2 separate regions of the Homo sapiens genome follow, and region 2 is linked to region 1. The links are contacts of gene promoters, found by promoter capture Hi-C in human tissues and cell types (Jung and others, 2019). All regions are on one chromosome and are shown on one strand. Each heading gives the region's core, a stretch centred on a gene start or on the middle of the fragment in contact. The rest is flanking DNA. Distances are from core to core; before and after follow the strand shown. Region 1 holds the start of VWCE (von Willebrand factor C and EGF domains). Region 2 overlaps CYB561A3 (cytochrome b561 family member A3).

Evidence for each region. The method cuts DNA at HindIII sites, captures the fragments that hold promoters and counts their contacts. A contact is called where the count stands out against the background at its distance.
Region 2: a contact is called between a fragment that was not itself captured here and the fragment with the promoter of VWCE in region 1, in 3 of the 25 tissues and cell types used here (H1 embryonic stem cells, IMR-90 fibroblasts and pancreas).

The regions. Positions count from the first base shown.
Region 1 is chr11:61,293,832-61,297,126 of GRCh38, reverse strand. VWCE (von Willebrand factor C and EGF domains) reads left to right here and starts at 1,811. Exons shown (of 20, transcript NM_152718.2): 1 at 1,811-2,199. The coding sequence starts at 2,090. RefSeq lists silencers at 1,732-1,801, 1,982-2,291, 2,732-2,991 and an enhancer at 2,058-2,760. The HindIII fragment of the contact is 27,132 bases long and covers 1-3,295 here.
Region 2 is chr11:61,354,628-61,357,686 of GRCh38, reverse strand. CYB561A3 (cytochrome b561 family member A3) reads left to right here. Exons shown (of 7, transcript NM_153611.6): 3 at 959-1,157. The coding sequence starts at 974. Among named protein-coding and RNA genes, the nearest start is that of CYB561A3, 5.7 kb to the left of the region's middle. The HindIII fragment of the contact is 3,137 bases long and covers 1-3,059 here.

The sequences.
Region 1 (3,295 bases), core at 562-3,061:
GAATATTTTGGCTCCTACTTGTTGAGAATATGTTGACAAGAAAATGGGCCAAAACAAACAAGGTGAGATACGGCCTCAAGGTGAATGTCTGCAAAAATGTAGCCACAAGCCGGGTGCGGTGGCTCACGCCTGTAATCCCAGCACTTTGGGAGGCTGACGTGGGTGGATCATTTGAGGTCAGGAGTTCAAGACCAGCCTGGTCAACATGGTGAAACCCCGTCCCTACTAAAAATACAAAAATTACCTGGGCATGGTGATGTGCGCCTGTAGTCCCAGCTACTCGGGAGGCTGAGGAAGGGGAATTGCTTGAACCCGGGAGATGGAGGTTGCAGTGAGCCGAAATCGTGCCACTGCATTCCAGCCTGGGCGACAGAGAAAGACTCCATCTAAAAAAAAAAAAAAAAAAATGGGGCCACACAGCTTCAGGTAGGGAGACCACTTGGCAGCTTGTGTTTAAATAACATAAAAGCACAACAAAAAATGCCTGCTTTTTTTCGTTCTTTTTTTTTTTTGAGATGGAGCCTTGCTCTGTCGCCCAGGCTGGAGTGCAATGGTGCAATCTTGGCTCACTGCAACCTCTGCCTCCTGGGTTCAAGTGATTCTCCTGCCTCAACCTGAGTAGCTGGGAATACAGGCGCCCGCCACCATGCCCAGCTAATTTTTGTATTTTTAGTAGAGATGGGGCGTCACCATATTGGCTAGGCTGGTTCTGGAACTCCTGACCTCAGGTGATCCGCCCACCTCAGCCTCCCAAAGTGCTGGGATTACAGGTGTGAGCCACCGCGCCCGGCCACCTGTGGTTTTTCTTTACTGCAAACTCAATGTGTCATAATTAACATCATGGGGTTGCCAAAAACGTAATATTAGGGTGCATTAGTAAAAGTATGGTGTCTGCAGGAAGGAGGCACGAGTCCAGGCCACCGCTGGTACGCCATGTCCATTTGTGGCCACCAATGTTAAGCACCTCAGTAAAGGCAGAGGTAGCAGGAAGGCCAAAGGAACAGGGATTGTTCAACTGGGAAGTGAAGACACTTTAAAACAAATGTGGTTCAAAACTGGATTGGGCCGCTTCTTAACAGATAGTGAGTTTCTTACCCCTGGAAGTATTTAAGCAAAATCTTGACTAATTGTGGGTGGCTAAGGGAAAGATTACTGCATGGAGCAGAAGGTAAAATCAGTTATCCTTTCAGCTTTCTCCCAGCGGGATGATTTTGATTTCCGCACCCCTTCTTTGCCTAAATCCCTAGGCAGCCCCCCAGTCTCTGACCACGGCCTGGGGCAGCTGCAGAAGGGGCAAAGAGGAGCCTTCCAGATCTGCTGCTGCCTCTCCACTGCCAACGGCGCCAGCTGCTTCCTGGTCTTGCCACCAGCAGTCGGGAGGCCGGCCATCTGCCCCCTGGGTGCCCAGAGGAGCCCGGGGCTTCAAAAGTGGCTAGGGCCCCAGGCCAGGGAGCGGTTGGACCCACAGATCAACGCACTCCGGCGTTAGGGTGCAGACCTTCTGGCAGGCTGGGGGCAGGCCTAGAACTGCTCAGCGGCACAGCGACCTGGCGTCGTGGGTTCGAATTTCCACGGTTCCCACCTCGTCACAACAAGGCGTCTCGGGTCCCACCGACAGGGGCCATGCCCGGGGCGCGCAGCCTCTGGTGCTAGCCTTGTTCCCGAAGTCTGTTTCCTCCCGGGGCCTCGGTCTGACGCCTTCAGTCAGCGCTTCGCAGGAAGCCGACTCCCAAACCGGGGCAGGGGGTGTGGGCCGAGGGCGAAACCCCGCCCCCAGGGGTCCCTGATCTTTGCCCCCGCCCCGGGCTCCGCGCCTCTCGGAGAGGCATCAGCAGGCGGGCGGCGTTGCCTTTGTGTGTTTCGCTTCGAGGTGCCAGAGACCCTCCCCACAATCGTCCGCCGCGTCCCCTCGCGGCCCTCGGCCCCTCCTCTCGGCGTCCCAAGCCCCCCTGCTCAGCTCTGCGTGCCATTTCGGGGATCGCTGGTTCGCTCCCCACGGCGCCAGGAGGAGGGGCGAGGGCCGGCAGCCCCCTCTCCCGCGCGCGGCGCAGGAGCCGAGCCCAGCCCGGGGGACCCGCCGCCGCCGGTCATGTGGGCCGGACTGCTCCTTCGGGCCGCCTGTGTCGCGCTCCTGCTGCCGGGGGCACCAGCCCGAGGCTACACCGGGAGGAAGCCGCCCGGGCACTTCGCGGCCGAGAGGTAAGCGCCCGGAGCTCCTCCCCGCTCCCCCGCCCGGGAGAGCGCTACCGGCGTGCAGTCGAGAGGCGCGGAGGGGCGCTCAGGAGCCGCAGGCAGCCGCGTGTCGGGGCTTCCTCTGGGGTGCTATCAGCGCGGGCACAGCTCGGGGACGGCACAAAGAGTCAGCAACTTGTGCCTCTAGGCGGGTGCTCATCGTGCCCCCCTGGCTGGGGCTGTCCAGACTGGGACCTGGGAGATCGGAGGTCCAGGCGTTGGGTGACTCCTAATGTGCCCTGGAGCGCGGACCTCTGGAGAGGGGAGCCCAGGACGTGCCATCTGGTCTCCGGACTGGCTGGCTCACCCCCCAGCGTGCCCGTGGCTCTGCCCGGGCAGCGCCTGGCCTCCCCTGCCGCGCGGGGCTTTCCCTGGGTCTTGGCCCTACGAACTTCATGGACCTTGGAACAGCCGGGGTCTCTGGGTCACTTTTCGTTTTCTGTCCGTGCGTGTGCGCGCGTGGGGGTGGGGTGCATGCCCCTCCGCTGTCTTTCGCGATGGATGCCGCCCTCCGCACGTGCTTTCCCCCGGGCCGCGGTGGGGCCGTGCGCGTGTGTGCGTGATGCTCGGAGCTAGGGAACACTGTGTCAGCAGGCGGCCTGGCCCGCGGCCACGTCCTCCGGGGGGCGCGCAGCGGGGGCGGCCCGGCCAGGCTTGTAGCTCACACGTGTGTTCCACAGCCACCGCCAGTTCCTGCTCAGAACCTGCCCCGACTCCCCGGCGTTCCACAGGCTCCCACCACCTGTCCCTCTGTCACCAGCCCTAGGAGGCTCCTTAGGGCGCTCTGGCGGGTGCTCGGTCCCTGCCCACCTGAGAGTTCGACTCCATCAGCCTCCCTGGGCACCCTTTTATCTGCCGCCTTGGTGGCACTGCCTGTCCGTTTCTGAGAGTCCCAAGGCTCCGCTCATTCGCCCGGTCCCCTCCTTCTCAGGCTGCTGCCATAATCACTCCAGCAAGGGGGTGGATGAGACTTCACTGCCAGCTCCCGCCAGCAGGAGGGCCCCCCCTTTCTTCTGTGATGACCTCAGAGAGGGAAAAAGGCCCCAGGGACAGCTTTCCTCAG
Region 2 (3,059 bases), core at 287-2,786, 61 kb before region 1:
CTGCTTCCGAGTGAGGGACCTCAATGCAGGAAGCCACACTGTTGCCTTCTTGGTGTGAGTCCGTGGGACAGGGTGACTGCCTTGATGCCTGGGCCCGTGCTGCCTACATATTAGCTGAAAGCAGGGCCAGTCCTGTGGCTTTGCCCACTCACCTAGCGTTTAAGAGCAACTGCTCAGGGCTTTAAGCATTTGCCATGCCTGAAACCAGAGTTGGTTTCTGGGTTTATCAAGGACTTGTGGAAATCTCAAAATAAATCTCTTGCTTTCTGGACCATGAGTTGTTGCTTCCTCTTTTTTTCTCTGGACTTTCCCCAGAGGAAGAGAAAGCAGAAGTCTCAGGGCTGGAGACAGCTGAGGGGCATCAGCTGGTTCAAGGTGTGGAGTGTGGGCAGTGGAGTGAAGGCCTGGTTACCTCTCCAGTGAAGATTAGCCCCATAGAGCTTACTCTATGGGGAAGAACTTTTCTGACTCCTTCCTGTCTAGGGTAATAGTGGGGTGTTTGCTCTTTTCAGACTGTAATTTTTGCCTTCTTATCTTAGAACCCAAGGCCTGGGTGTTTGCGTAATTTAGCCTGGATTTTGATTCCTGTCCCTTTTTTCCTGGGGGGTATGGGGTGGTAATTCTTTACCTTCTGGTCCTGTGAGGGGAGAGGAATCCCAGGACTCTGGGTCTTGGGCCTTGGCATCTGGCCTTCGCCAGGGCCAGCCATAGCCTTGAGTTTGCTGCTCTGTCTGGGCACTGCCAGGTGCTGGGGTGGGGCCTCAGTCATTGTGACTGAAGATCAGGCCCACCCAGGCATTGAGGCCTCGGGCGGGGGGTGGTGCCCAGGCTGATGCAGGGGAACTGAAGCAAAAAGATTCCATCCCACAGGCCAAGAGCTAAATCAGTGTTACCTCCTTTAGCCAGAGAACTGGGTGCATCTGAGCCAGTGGAGATTTGTGACTTCTCCTTCTTCTAGGAGTGCGTGATCAGAATGGTGTCTGGACGGTTCTACTTGTCCTGCCTGCTGCTGGGGTCCCTGGGCTCTATGTGCATCCTCTTCACTATCTACTGGATGCAGTACTGGCGTGGTGGCTTTGCCTGGAATGGCAGCATCTACATGTTCAACTGGCACCCAGTGCTTATGGTTGCTGGCATGGTGGTATTCTATGGAGGTGGTGAGTAAGAGGTCAGGAAGGGAGGCGGGATAGGGCTCAGGCTGGACAAAGCTGCACTTTCCCTCTCCAAGGCTGGCCTTTGTAAATGTTGGGCTTGGGGCTATGGGGGTAGGGTGGGTTGGGCTGTCTCTGGGCCTAGCTGTCATTTGGGGGAGGAAGGGGTTAAGATGGGGGGCATCTCAGAAGGGTGGCTTCACAAATACTCTAGGGCAGGAGTTGGCAAACTTTCTATAGAGGGTCAGATAAATATTTCAGTTTTGCAAGACAGAATCTGTGTTGCAGTTACTCAGCTCTGCCACTGTATTGTGAGAGCAGCCATAGACAACACATACACACAAGTGTGGATCACGTGTTCCAATAAAGCTTTATTTGCAAACATAGGTAGCGAGCTGGATTTGGCCTTTGAGCTGTAGTGTTTTTTTTTTTTTTTTTTTTCTCTAGACGGAGTCTTGCTGTGTCGCCCAGGCTGGAGTGCAGTGGCGTGATATCGGCTCACTGCAAGCTCCACCTCCCAGGTTTGCGCCATTCTCCTGCCTCAGCCTCCCGAGTAGCTGGGACTACAGGCGCCTGCCACCGTGACCGGCTAATTTTTTTTTGTATTTTTAGTAGAGACAGCGTTTCACCGTGTTAGCCAGGATGGTCTTGATCTCCTGACCTTGTGATCTGCCCACCTCAGCCTCCTGAAGTGCTGGGATTACAGGCTTGAGCCATCATGCCCGACCTGAGCTGTAGTTTTTAACCAGCTCTAGAGAACAGGAGATTGAAGCCTCTCATGGTTTAGTCAGGCCACCGAATGAGGGACTTGCTTGCTCTTCCGGGATCCATCTTTTTTTTTTTTTTCTTTTTTTGAGATGGAGTTTTGCTCTTGTTGCCCAGGCTGGAGTGCAATGGCGTGATCTTGGCTCACTGCAACCTCCGCCTCCTGGGTTCAGGCCATTCTCCTGCCTCAGCCTCCCAAGTACCTGAGATTATAGGTGCCCGCCATCATGCCCAGCTAATTTTTATATTTTTTAGTAGAGATGGGGTTTCACCATGTTGGTCAGGCTGGCCTCGAACTCCTGACCTCAGGTGATCCACCCGCCTCTGCCTCCCAAAGTGCTGGGATTACAGGTGTGAGCCACTGCGCCCAACCTGGGATCCATCTTTGTAATCTTTGTCCCATGCTTTCAAATCTGTGCCTTGGGGCCCTGGTGAGCCTCATTTTCCCCATTTGTAAAATGGCAATACGATGCCATTGATGATAGCAGCTTACCATGTGCAGTTCACATATATCATCCCATTTTGTTCTTACAAGTTTGTGAGGTGGGCTCTGTTATATCCCTTTTACAGATGAGGAAATTGAGAGTTAGACAGGAGAGGCCAGGCCAGGCGTGGTGGCTCACGCCTGTAATCCCAGCACTTTGGGAGACTGAGGTGGGCGGATCATGAGGTCAGGGGATCGAGACCATCCTCGCTAACACAGTGAAACCCCGTCTCTACTAAAAATACAAAAAATTAGCCGGGTATGGTGGCAGGCACCTGTAGTCCCAGCTACTTGGGAGGCTGAGGCAGGAGAATGGCGTGAACCCGGGAGGCGGAGCTTGCAGTGAGCTGAGATTGCGCCGCTGCACTCCAGCCTGGATGATAGAACGAGACTCTGTCTCAAAAAAAAAAAAAAAAAAAAAGAAAGGAGAGGCCAAACAGCTAAGAGGCAGAGCCTGGATTTGGACCTATGTTGCCTGACCTTAGTACCTGTGTTGACAGCCAGCCTCACTTGTGACAATTCAGTTTGATGAAACAATGACTGTCATGATGCTTTTTAGCCTAGAAACTGCAAACAAGCTGAATTTATTATTGTGAAAATAGAATGAGAGGTCCAAGAAACCTGCTTCCCCCCTCCACTTTTTTTTTAGGAGACAGGTT